Linked DNA regions of Homo sapiens: all the other regions are linked to region 2. Evidence: promoter capture Hi-C in 16 types of primary human blood cells and fetal thymus (Javierre and others, 2016). All regions are on one chromosome and are shown on one strand. The core of a region is centred on a gene start or on the middle of the fragment in contact, and the rest is flanking DNA. Distances in the headings are between cores, read along the strand shown.

Region 1 (4,149 bases), core at 1,398-3,897, 330 kb after region 2:
TATGAGTGACGGGTGTGAATGCGCCTGCGTGCGTGTGAGGGGGAGTGTCCTGAGACAGCATCTGTGTAAGTGTACAAGGGAGTGTGAACATGCGTGTGGGTGTGAGTGAAGGCAAGCAAGGGGAGTGAGGGTGAGAACTGCACGAGAGTGATTGTGTGAATGTGCGAGTGAGAAAGTGTGGACGATCATTAGTGTGCATGCAAGTTGTGTGTGTGAATGCAAGTGTGCATGTTCTGTGTGTGAGCAAGAGTGTGTGTTGTAAGTACTTGTGTATGGAGGAGCATGCAGGAGTGAGTGCGGCTGCGCAGAGGCATGAGAACAGGAGAGTGAGCAGCTGACTGCGTGTGTGGGCAAGGGACTTGTGAGCCCCGGTGTGAGTGTGTGATGATGTGCTCACATGCTTGAGTTGTAGGTGTGAGTGAGACTGAAAGAGAGCGTGGATGGCTAGGGACAGTAGGGTGAGAGTGCCTGAGAGCTCACGGATATAAAGGAAGAAAACATCCCAAAATATTTCATTGATATCACTGATCTCTGGCTGGTAGAAATATAGTGAAATTTTAATGTTCAATATTTTTCTGAATTTCTATAATTATCTATAATTAGGATTATCACTTCTCTGGTAAAACAGATGTAGATGAAGCAATTTCATGGCTTCATTTCGGGTTCCCCGGCAGCAGCCCCCTCCACAGGCTCCTCCTCCATGCTCCAAAGGCCCAGCTCCCTTTGGACACAGGCATCTTCTGTCTCCAATGGCTGGTGCCCTCATTTCCTCTCCCTGGCTTTGAGGTCCAACAAATATGACTAGTCCATGGGCCAGAGCACAATCTCAGGGCCAGACCCAAGCAACCAGTTCCCACCAATGTGGGGTCACCAGGTCCTTGAAGATGGATCAGTCCCACACAGATCCACATGACCCATGAACGGAGCCAAAATGGATGACTGTATCTAACCAACGGTTTCTCTCTGTCATTGAATCATGTGAAATGCCTGAACGTGTTTTCACCAAATGGAGAGGCTATGTTAGAATGGTCTGTCTTAAAGCGCAGGCTGTGGGGCACGGAGCCAGGCAGCTATCCCACAGAGCAGCTGAAATGGAAGCCGACCAGAGGAGATGATGCCAACAAACCCAGACACACGACAGAGAAAACCAACCAGGGTTTCAAATAACAAGCCCTTCCAAAGGTAGGTTGGGCCCATCACTCCTCCACCCAAAGCCCTGCAGGTCTCAAGGTTTTACCTGGCCTGAATCACTGAAGCCTTTACCTCTCTGTGCTCACCTTATATCCCTGTCCTTCCCTCAGCTGCAGCCACACAAACCTCCCTGCTGGCCCCCAACAGGACAGTCCCGGGCTTATCTCAGGGCCTTGGCATGAGCTGTTGCCTCTGCCTGGAATGCTCTCCCCAACACATCTCTGTGCTCAGTTCTTCTCCTTCTTCGAGTCCCTGCTCAAAGGTCACATCCTCATGGAGCCTCCCCCAGGCACCAACCTATGCACATTCTATAGCAATCTGATAGAGTGCAAGATTTGTTTCCTTACTGTTTATCGTCTCCCACAGCTAAAGGTAAGCTTCATGAGGACAGGGATCTTATCTCTGTTGTTTATGGATATATTCAAGCACCTTGAAGAATGCCAGCCGTTAGGAGATGCTCAATAAATATCTGTTGAATGTTGAGTGGAAGTATGTCACAAAGTGCAGGGCTGTAAAATTGCTAAGTTGCAATTCAGCTTAATCCTCACTCAGGGGCTCCAGGTTACTGCTCTAAGGATAGATGGATTGGTTGACTGATTCTGTGAAAAGTTGAGGACTAAATTCTACAAATCCTACTTTTCCATAGAATGTCTTATCTAAAACATTACACAGAAAGGTGTGCATGGATAAAATTTTGAAATAATCCGACAAATCACAAATGAATCCGGTCTTGGAGACAAACATAAATCGGGAAATATCTTGACATACCACTGTCTCCTCCAGCCCTTTGAGGTCTTCTCTGGCTTGTTCCCTTTTATCGTTGAGCAATCTGAAAAACAAAAAGGAACCATAGACCACCACAGGGGACTCAGAGATTTCAGCAGATACTATTTGCATCCACAGATAAATCAACAAAACCCACCAACAAGCACACAAATAGCCATTGTCTGTTTTTAAATTAGCCCAATCTAACCAGAATATCATGGGGATGAGAGAAAATAGAGGAAATATTTAGAGTGCACTCACAAGAGCTTTTCCAGCTTCATTTCTCTCTCTTGGTCCTCTATTTTCAGCTTGTTATAATCAGAACTAAGCTTCTCCTGTTCCAGTTGCAGTTTCTGATTCAAACTGAAATTGAGAGGAAAAAGCAATATATTCCACATCAGTCTGAAATTCTGAGTCATCAGGCTAAAACCGTGGTTCTGTTCCAACCCTATTAGCTCTGTACAATAAAGGCAGTAATTCTGCAGGATTTGGAGGGATCACAGAACAGCCTCACAGCTTCCTCCGTGCCCAAGTGAAAACTAATTTCTGGGGTGCATCTAAGAGTCATGAAACATAAGGCTTTGAGGATGTATTTATAGTTTGCTTGTGCAAGAGCTTCAGGGGAAAAATAATGAGATGGGAGAAGGGCTGATATTTTAAAACAGAGAGCCCATGTCAGAAGAACTCTGCTTCCTCGGCCCCTCGGATGGCATGCAGTCACTTGGGGAACCTGATTTGGCCATTTCCACCTTCCCTCATTTCTGGTCTGATGTTCTAAAAACATCTCCCAAGTCCGAATGCCTCACTGATACAGGGACAGTTCCTGCCCTCGAGGAGTGGGCACAGAGAGAATTATGAAGAAAAGACAGCCTGGGCTCTGCTGCAAACAGAAACTCGCCATCTGGTTGAGGGTGTTTGGTCAACATTTACATCAGCCCAGGACTCATAAAACCTTTCCTAGAGCCACGCCTAAGCGCCTGTAAAGGAACAGCTATGCACTACCAGAAGGAAAACCCAGAGTCCATTTGAAAGGCACAAGCCAGGGAAGCTTCCCCCTCCACCTAACTCACTCACCAACCAACCCTCTTTCTCCCTCTTCCTTCCCTCCAACCTCCCCCTCCCTTCCAGTCGAATCTGTGAGGGTGATTAATCAGAATAACGAATGTGAGATATCCCTGAAGGGGAAAAGCACAACATGGCAACAGCAGGGGATGGCCGAAGAGGAGAAAAAGAGGGAGGAGGCTAAGTGCCTTCCTTCAGGAACTGGGCACCGAGCCTGGGTCACACCATTTAGACTTTTGCTTGGGTTACCATTCTCCTCTTTTAAAATGCAAATGCACCTTTCGAGCGGCTCACACACATTGAAAAGGGACTTGGATCAGTAGTCTGGAGAATTAAAGTCTAACTCCAATCTGATTCCTATTTAGCAATGTGACCTTAAGTAAATCATTTCGCCTTGCTTCCCATATAGAAATCTGTTTCTTCATCTACAGAAAGCGGGAGGGGAGGGAACAGTGTAGACCCTGGGTGGGGTGGGGGTGGGGAGGTCAGCATTTCAATATAATTGGTTTTCTTTGTAATCCCAGGTCTTTTATGCAGAGCATTTGAAAACATTATTCTGAAGGAGCAGAGGGCATGTCAGAGGCTGCGACAAGGCAGGAGCACAACATGAGGGGGTGTCACCTGAGAGAAACTGCAATGATGCCATCCTGGTGGCAGTGCCACAGGTCACTGGCACCTCTACCTGCACAGACACATGACAGTGTGGGGCCCTAAGAAGTGAGCACATGGAACCAGGTGGCTGGGTTGCCCAGTGAGCGTGTATGTGTAGGGGGAGAAGGGGAGGCGGTGGTGCTGTCTTCTCTCGAGTGTTTATTAACCTACTAGAATCCTGTAGTCAGGACCAAATTTTTTTTTTTTCTTTTCTTTTCTTTTCTTTTTTTTTTTTTTTTTTGGTGCTTTCATTACAGATGCTCCCCCCCATCTACTGGGGCATGCGTCCATCCAGCGGAATCACCTATGTGACCCTGGCCCTCGGGGACTAGGAGAGGCAGCTGGGCCCGCCTGCCACCTGCCATGCCAGGGCTCCAGGAGGCTCAGCTCCAGATCGGAGAACAGACCTTGGAAGCAGCCCGCCCAGCCTGCTGTGTCACCAGGGCAGTGCCCACAGGGCAAGGTGAGCAGGGCCCTCGA
Region 2 (4,252 bases), core at 396-2,895:
GGACTAGAGTTCTATAAACCTCTATTTAAACAAGGAAGCCTCTTTTAAGTCTTATTTCAGTCTGGTGCCTTTGGTCGAGGTGGAAACTAAAATTGAAAACAGATAGATGTTTTACATTTAAATGGGTTTAACATAAATGTGCATTAACCCATTTCATGGGCGATTGCACAAATACCTTTTGCAAACTTGGTACACGTGAGCGCATATACAGTAACCATTAATGTCTTCTAGAGAAATAAGGTGCAGATCCAAAATTTTAAACAGCTAGCTCGAGTTCCTCTCACTCGAAAGAAAATGTAATGGCTTTAAGGGAATTGCTCTAATAATATCATGGCATCTGCAATGGCTGGCCAGAGCAGAGCAGAACAGTGTGTATGTCACCGCAAGTCAATTTAACAAGAAATAAGCTTCCCCCTGGAGAATCTAAACTCCCTTGCCTCCCACAAAGAAAATTGAATTTTGGAGGTCACACCTTGGGTAGGTTACCATAGAAAGAAGCTTAACATTCTTTTTGTCATATGCTCTGGGAGGTCAATGCTGTTCTTCCAACAAGTGACTACCAAAGACCCTCTTCCATTCCCCCCCACCCAATTCTCTCCCCCGATCCCATTATAACAAGTCTTTGGAGTCCTCTAGGAAACGGGATGTGATTGTGACACTTGAAAATGCCAAGGACCACACCGAAGGCAATCATGCTCAAACACCAAGTTTTGAGCCCCGCAGTGAGGAGCAGGGCAGATACTGGGGCGGGAGAGGGGACTGGAGGAGGGCAGCGGTAGAGATAGTGAGGATATGGTGGGGGTCAGAGCGAGTCAGACCGTCAGATAGTGAGCTTTAGGTTGTAACTGAACGCTTAGCCAAATGTGAATCAACGGAACTGCTGTTACCGGAGAGAAAAACAGGTCGCCAAGTCAAGCCCAGGCCAAATCCCAACTCTGTGGGTGGATGGTCCCTTCCCTGGGTTGTCGGGGTGGATGGCTGAAAGGCCTAGCGTGGTCTTGCAGCGGCGGGGAGGTACCTCCAGCACACTGCACCTCCCTTAGAGGCTCCGGGTGGCCGCAGCCGGGCTACCGCCACTGCCCCCCGCCCCGCAGCAACATGTGGGGTGCTGCCAGTCCGCCGCCCAGGAACTCCCTCCGGCTGGAGTTCCTGGTGGACGCATGTTGGGCCGTGAGAAGATGCTGAATTACTCCTGGGAAAGGTTCCTCCAGCCTTGAACTTGGCAGCTCCTGACCTTTCCATCCCACCCTCCACGCGCCAGCCCAACACACACGAGTACACACGCCCCTCTGGACCCGTCCAGGCTACTCGCGGGGCTCTCTGCCCACTAGGGGCAAAACGCCGGAGGCCGGGACCCCAGTTCCTCTGGCCCCAGGGGACTGCCCTAGCATCGGGTAGTTCCAGGGACTCAGCGCACTCCCTGCCTTGGCCAGGCCCCGCCTAAGCCGGGGCCGCTGGCACCAATCCCCTGTTCTTTTGTGCTCTCCCGGGAAGCCCGCCTCTACTCACCCGGGCTGCGCGCGGATTCCGGCCGCCAGCTGCAGCCCGCTGCCCCATCCCACGAACACTGCGGCGCCCCCAGAGTGTGCAATGCGGCGCCCCGCCAGCCCGCTGCCGGAGCCCGGGAGCTCAGGGAAGGAGCGAGGGAGCGCAGCGGGGAGAGGCGGGGGGCGGCTAGGGGCGCGCGCGCCACTCCCACTCGCGCCGGGCACTGGCCGCCGCCCGCAGCCGCGGCCGGCCCGGCCTCGAGGGCCGCGGGACCAATCAGCGCGCGCGGGGGGAGCGGAGCCCTCCGCGGGGCGCGCTCATTGGCCCGGCGCGCGCGGCCCAACTCCGGGAGAATCGGCCTGAGCGCCAAGTCTGCAAACTCCGGCCAGCGGGAGCCGACCGCCCGGCGCAGGTGGGGCACCCGGGCGCCGCGCTCCCGCCCGCAGGGTGAGCGGAACTGGAGAGATTTGGGACCTTCCCGGGAAGCCTGTTCCCAGTGAGCGTTGGAAGCGAGCAGTGTTTGCTCAGGGTGCACCGATACCTTCCTGTGCGCGACCCCCTGGCGCCTCTCCCTAGCCGCCAGCCTCAGCCGGGCCAGCAGCTGCGTGCGTGGCTGCAGGCCCGGCAGTGTGAAATGACCCTGGCCAAATCTCACTCCCCGCCATCCCCTGGGCCCCGCGAAATCCGCCGGACCGCAGAGCTCAAGAGCAAGTGAAGCTCCGAACCCAGGGAAGGCGGAGACCACTTGACGTTTGCAGTAAAAGACCTAAGCTGCGGGGCGGAGCATGGAGGCGGTGGGAAGAGCCAGGAAGGCAGGTCTTAGGAAGTGGGAATCCGGTTATGGGTTTGGTGCAAAAAAGTCCAGGGCATAATACTGCCACCCTCTGCCCAACCCTTCCTCCAGTTAAAGCCCCTGCAGCCCTCTTGGGACGTATTGGTTTTTCTCTTCCTTGTTGTAAATCGTGTTTGACCCCCCTGGACGGTTCGATCTAGAGCCTTAGAGTGGAAGTGGGTCATAGTCCTACTCTCCCCTGAGCAGCGCGGGGGGCCGGCGGGGAGCCGGGGTGACCGGGGAAGGTCCCCAGGAAGGTCTGGAAGGACTCCACGGATATGCCCGGAAACTCGGAACCAGCCTCCCCACCTCCCCCCGAACTTGGCCTGCAAGGCTACCTTCGTAAGGGCGGCCCGCCATGTGGCTATTTGTCGATCTTTGAGACCCCTCCACCTTCTCCTTGGATTTTCTACCCCTGGAGCATTTTTTCAGGCCTCTCCTGAATCACCCTGCCTTCCCAATAATCTATCCATCCCAACATAAAAACATTCTTACTCTTTTTTAAATTAAACTTCCTTCCCCAGTCCCTCTATTTGGAAGGGCCTAGGATAACCTATTTTTGATCGACAGCTGCTAGACCTCAGAAAGTTTTTCTCTTAGTGTATGTGCACAGGCTTGCCCAAGCTCAGGGTTCAAGTAGGCAAAAAATAATTAGCGCCCCCTCAAGGTGGAGATCGCTGCCGCGCTGTCTTCCTGCAGGGCTCAGCAGGGTGAATGAATTGAATATGAATTAATCAACCTGAACTTGGAAATGTCTCTCCGTGTCTAGGCAGGTTACCTCTGCGGGTTAGCATCTACTAATGAGGGCATGTCCCGGGTGTCACTGCTGACACTCATTTAGTTTCCAGTTGGCAGTTCCGGTCCATGTACTTATTCACTTTATTTAAAAAAAATCGGTGCATAGTTTAGTGAAAATATTCATATTTGGGTTCAAAGTGAAGTTCAACGTATTAATGCAGTTTATGAGAGCCGAGTTCCTGGTAGAGATGGAACCCTTAGGATCTCTTTTCAGAAATATATTTTCAAAGAAGGCTGGAAAGATATGCATATGAAATGTCTGCAGTGGTTATCTCTGCGTGTTGGGATAATGGATGGTTTTCTTGTTCTTTATACTTTACGGTATTTTCTAAAGAACATTAATATTAATTTAAAAATTTTTTTAAAATGTTGACTACCAACATACAACACTCCTCAGGCATCAGAAGAGCGAAAATGTTAAATCTTCCTTCTGCTTTTCCCTTCACATCTTGTCAATCGCCCAGTCCTGTGTTTCTGTCTCCTAGGATGACTTCTAGATCCATCCCTCCCAGCATCTCTATTTCACTGCCAGACCTCATCATGCCTTACCAGCGCTTCAGCAACAGGCTTTCACTGCTCTGCTCTCCAGTCGACCACACGCTGCCCTCTCTATTTCAGAATCACTAATGTAATCATGTCACTTTCAAGCTTAAAATTCTTCAGTTCCAACCCCACTGTGAGGAAGTTCAAATGGAGCCTGGTTGGCAAGGCGTTTCCTTCCCAGTCCGTTCCCAGCTTTCCACGTTGGTCTCATCTTCTGTCCTCACAGTTCCGCAGGCAGGATGGTTCTGCTCCACCTACAACTGCCTGTCCGTGGACCTTCACACACCCATGTCTAAGATTTCATAGTGCTAGAATGCTGTGCTTCTCTTCCTTCTCAACTCTCTCCTGCCCCAACAGCAAGTTCCTATCTTTGCTTCAAGATTCACTTCGAATACCACCTTTTTAAAAATCAAGTCTTCGAAACTGCCCGGGGCAGAATTAAGCAACGCCTTCTTTCTGTACATCAGAAGCAAGCTTTTTTTTTTTTTTTTTTTTTTTTTTTTGACGGAGTCTCACTCTGCTGCCCAGGCTGGAGCAAAGTGACGCGATGAAGAAAACATACATTGTATTTACACTCCTGGAGTGCACGAA
Region 3 (4,670 bases), core at 871-3,370, 280 kb after region 2:
GGCCAGGGTAGTGAAGAAGCTGGAAACACTGCTGGAGGAATCAGCTTTACACCAGACACAAGAGCACTCTGAGGTACTAAGGGACCTGTTTTGAAACCTTCCAAAGCTTGTCCACTGGAAGATGGACTGAACGAGTGTTTTTCATACTGTAAGAAGCAACACATTGGTGCATCATGTAATTGATTTAGAGGTACAAGACTTATTGTAAGAGTAACTACTGTTTCATAAAGTGTCACGTGTATGAGAGCATGTGTGTGTGTGTGTGCATGTGCATGCACACATGCTCATATACTGAGTCATGCAAACTAATTTCAAAACAATTTGCAAGGTAGTGAGTTACACAAACTGGTAGATTAGAGAAGGGTACATTTCAATGATGAGAGAGTCATTGAAAGTGAAATGAGAAGAACTCTTAAGTTTTCTCCCCATTCTAAGAGACTATCAGTTTAGATCACAGGCACTGTGTACCACTGAAGGCACATTAGGAGAGAACTGATTCTATAGGGTGGACATAAACAGGCTGAGACTTCATTTGGCCATTTACATTGGAATAACACCTCTGTGAAAGGCAAGGTTGAAAGTGATACTTAGACCAGGAGCTTTCAATGCAGATGAATATCAGACTCACCTGGGGAGCTTATAAACGATATCCATACCTAATCCTGACGTATATTAATTGAAACACTGGGGCCCAAAATCTGTGTTTCCTTTTCATGCTTCCCAAGTAAGGGCTGAGAACCACTGATTTATACATATGAAATGTGTAAATTATATTTGATAAAGCATAAGTGGAAGGGAAACGACACCAGTATTTTACAAGAAGATCACCAAAAGAAAGAGCTTGAAAACATGAAATCAGGGCTTTTGATTTCTGCTCAGGATGTAGAGAACTGAAAAGAACATTATTACCATGCTTACAAAAAATAAAAAGCCAGGTAAAGCACAAGATCATAACCTTCTCAAATCCATGAGAAAACTGAGGCAAAGGAGAACAAACTAGCCCAAAATCTAGAGAGGCACTTGCAGGAAGAGACAAGACATGAGCACTTGTCTACTTGAGGCAGATGTACCTGGACACTGACTAACAAGCATCGGGTCACAAATAACAATGGACTACCACTGGGAGAGTTGAAAGAGCATGGAGACAGACCACTCTGGGGCCCAGTACCACAGGAAGACCAAAAGATGGGAATGGCAAAGGCCTTTGGCAAGCCAGCTCCAACCCTAAATACAAGGCATCACTAGAGGAATTTGAAGTCTGGGGGTACACTGAGAATAACCAGAGGAATGAGAACCCTCAAACCCAGTTCATCTTCTGACTAGATTGATCAATCTTCACACTAAAGGCCTGGTAAAAAGAGAACGGCGTGCCCATTCCCATGCATAAAGCCTATCTCCATATCTAATGTCCTATATAAGATGTCTAGTTATCAACAAAAAAAAATTATAGGGCATGAGAAAAGCAAGAAAAGATCATACTGCGAAAAGACATTGCAATGAATAGAACCAGACCTAGATGCTGAAGCTATCAGACAAAGAATTTTAAATAACCAAAATTAATTATAAAAGTCCGTAGTGGAAAGGGTAGACAATCTGAAAGATTAAATGGAAAATGTTATCAGAGAGAAAAACTGCAGGAAAGAATCAAATGGAAATATTTGAAAGGCTAAAGACAGTAACAAATAAAGGATGCTTTCAACAGGCATTCTTCAGTGGACTTGATACAGCAAAGGAAAAAATCATTGAACTTGAAAATAGATCAGTAGAAATTACCCAAACTAAATAAGAAGAGAAAAAACATGAATAAAACAAGCAAAAAACGAATGGAGTGCCCAAGAGCTGTGGGACTGTATCATAAATTCAAACCTAGGTGTAACTGAAATTTCAGGAGAAAAGAAAGAAAATAGGCAGAAGAAATATTTGAAAAAATAATTGCTGAGAATTTTCCAAAATTAATGACAGATACCAAATCACAGATCCAAGGAGCTCAAGAACATCAGGTATGATAAATATCAAGAGTGTGCACGCATGCATACATGTACACACACACACACACACTCCCAGGCATATCATATTCAAAGAGCTGAAAACCAAAGACAAAAATAAAATCTTGAAAGCAGCAAAAGAAAAATGAAACATCAAATGAAAAGGAACAAAGATAGGAATTACAGAAGACTTCTTGTCAGAGGCATACAAGAAGAGAATGAAGCAACATTTTTAAAGTCCTGAATTTTTTTTTTAAATTGTCAACCCATTGCTTCTCAGCCTTTTAGCTAAGATCAAGCGTAAAAACTGTCAACCCAGAATTTTATACCCAGTAAAATATCTCCCAAAGATGCAGGAAAAATAGAAATCAAAGAGAAACAAAAACTTAGAATTCATTGCCAGGAGACCTACACTACAACAAATGTTAAATTAAGTTATCCAGGCGTTGCCAGACCAAAACTTGGATCTACACAAAGAAAACAATGATGGAAATGATATAAATGAAAATCAAACAAAATTATTTTTTCTCTTAATTTTAATTGCTATAAAAGATAACTGAATGTCTAAAGCAGGAGTAAGCAAACTATAACCTACAAGCCAAACCTAGCCCCTGGTCTGTTTTAGCATAACCAATGAACTAAGAATGTTTTTTGAAATACATTTGTAAAGAATTGTTTAAGAATAAAAGTATATGCAACAGAGACCATCTATGGCCTCAAAGCCTAAAATAATTACTTTCTGGCTTTTTTACAGAAAAAGTTTGTTGACCCCTGGTCTAAAGCAAAAAATCTTTTATTTATAGCTGATATTAAAAAATGATAATAACAATAGCACAAAACATAAAAGAGAAGTACTGTAAATATACTGCTATAAGACTACAAATGAAACAGTATAATACTACTTGAAAGTAGACTCTAATTAATTAAAGATACATATTATTAACTCTAGAGCAATCACTAAAAAAATGTAAAGAGGCATAGGTAAGAAGTCCATAGTGGAGATAAGGAAAATATAAAAAAATGCTCAAGACCAGGAGGTCGAGGGTACAGTAAGCCAAGATTGCGCCACTGTACTCTGGCCTGGGTGACAGAGCGGGACCCCATCTCAAAAAACAAAATAAACAACAACAACAACAAAAAAAGCTCAAGAAACAAGAAAAAAAAAGAACAGATAGAACAAATAGAAAACAACTAGCAAGATGGTAGATTATAATTAAGCCATATCAATAGCATAGCAAGTGTAAATGGTCTAACATACCAGTTAACAGACAGATATTGTCAGATTAGTTGAAAAAATAAGACTCAAGTATATGTTGCCACAAGAAAGCCACCTTAAGTATACAGGTTATTTTATAACCTAAATATAGGTTAAAAGTAAAAGAACACAAAAAGATATACAATGCAAACATTAATCCAAAAAAAGCTGGAGTATCTGTATTATTAACACCCAAAGCAGACTACAGAAAAAGGAATATTAACAGAAATACAGAGGGACATCACATAATAAGAAAGGGATCAAGATGTTCTCCAAGAGGACATCACAACCCTAAATGTGTATGCACTTAACAACATAGAGTCAAAATACATGAAGTAAGAAGTGATATGAGTAAAAAGAAAAATAGATACATCCACAATTGTAACTGGAAATGCTAACATTCCTCTCTTGGTTATAGAGAAAACAAGCAGAAAATTAATAAGAACACAGAAGACCTGAACAACCCTATCAAGCAACTTGACCTAATTGATATTTCTGGAACATCCCACCCATCAATAGCAGAATACACATATTTTCAAGTGTGCATTGAAATTCACCAAGATAAACCACATTCTGGGTCATAAAACAAATATGAACAAATCTAAAAGAACAGAAATCATGCAAGTCATATTCTAGGATAATAAAAGATTTAAACTAGAAATCAATAACAGAAAAACTTCTAGAAAATCCCCAAATATCTTAAAATTAAATGATATACTTTAAAATAACATACGGGTCAATAAGTAGTCTCAAAAGAAATGTTAAAATATTTAAACTAAGTGAAAATTCAAATATACATTTCAAAATTGTATAATGCAGCTAAAGCAAGGCCTAGAGGGAAATGTATAGCATTAAATACTTCTATTAAAACAAAAATCAGTAATATAAGCTTATCCCTTAAAAAATAGAAGAGTACATTAAACCTAAGCAAAGACAAGGAAGGCAATAATAAAATAAGAGCAGAAATCAATTAAATTGAAAACAGAAAAATAATAGACAAAATTAAACCAAAATCTGGATCTTTGAAGAGATCAGTAAAATTGATAAACCTCTAGACAGACTGAGCAAGAAAAAGACTGAAGACATAAGTTAATAATGTCAAGAATAAAAGAGGGAGTATTATTACTGACCATTCAGACATAAATGGCTAATAAAAGAACACCACAAAAAATTCTGTATCAATGAATTTGACAACTTAGGTGAAGTGGACTGAATCTTTGAAAGATAGAAACTAACAAAACTTATCAAGAAGAAATAGATAATCTGAATAGTCCTATATCTATTTATAAAATTAAATTTGTGTTAAAAACCTTCCAACAAAGAAAACTCTAGGACCAAATGGTTTCACTAGAGAATTCTACCAAACACTGAAGGAATAAATAATACCAATCTACCTAGTCCCCTCCAAAAATACATTACAACCAAGTGGA

What was found. The method cuts DNA at HindIII sites, captures the fragments that hold promoters and counts their contacts. A CHiCAGO score of 5 or more calls a contact.
Region 1: a contact is called between a fragment that was not itself captured here and the fragment with the promoter of LYPD6 in region 2, in 2 of 17 cell types (M2 macrophages and M1 macrophages). The highest score is 5.9, in M2 macrophages.
Region 3: a fragment that was not itself captured here is called in contact with the fragment with the promoter of LYPD6 in region 2 in 2 of 17 cell types (M2 macrophages and M1 macrophages); the score reaches 7.4 in M2 macrophages.

The regions. Positions count from the first base shown.
Region 1 is chr2:148,998,593-149,002,741 of GRCh38, reverse strand. KIF5C (kinesin family member 5C) reads right to left here. Exons shown (of 26, transcript NM_004522.3): 20 at 2,218-2,319; 21 at 1,960-2,020. Among named protein-coding and RNA genes, the nearest start is that of LYPD6B, 38 kb to the left of the region's middle. RefSeq lists enhancers at 1,606-2,537, 2,538-3,471 and a silencer at 2,973-3,267. The HindIII fragment of the contact is 719 bases long and covers 2,288-3,006 here.
Region 2 is chr2:149,327,980-149,332,231 of GRCh38, reverse strand. It overlaps LYPD6 (LY6/PLAUR domain containing 6), which reads right to left and starts at 1,645. Exons shown (of 5, transcript NM_194317.5): 1 at 1,510-1,645. MIR9899 (microRNA 9899) reads left to right here and starts at 1,859; the gene lies at 1,859-1,954. RefSeq lists a silencer at 1,559-2,028. The HindIII fragment of the contact is 3,268 bases long and covers 501-3,768 here.
Region 3 is chr2:149,044,953-149,049,622 of GRCh38, reverse strand. All of the region lies in intron 1 of LYPD6B (LY6/PLAUR domain containing 6B), which reads right to left. Among named protein-coding and RNA genes, the nearest start is that of LYPD6B, 8.6 kb to the right of the region's middle. RefSeq lists an enhancer at 162-371. The HindIII fragment of the contact is 4,023 bases long and covers 109-4,131 here.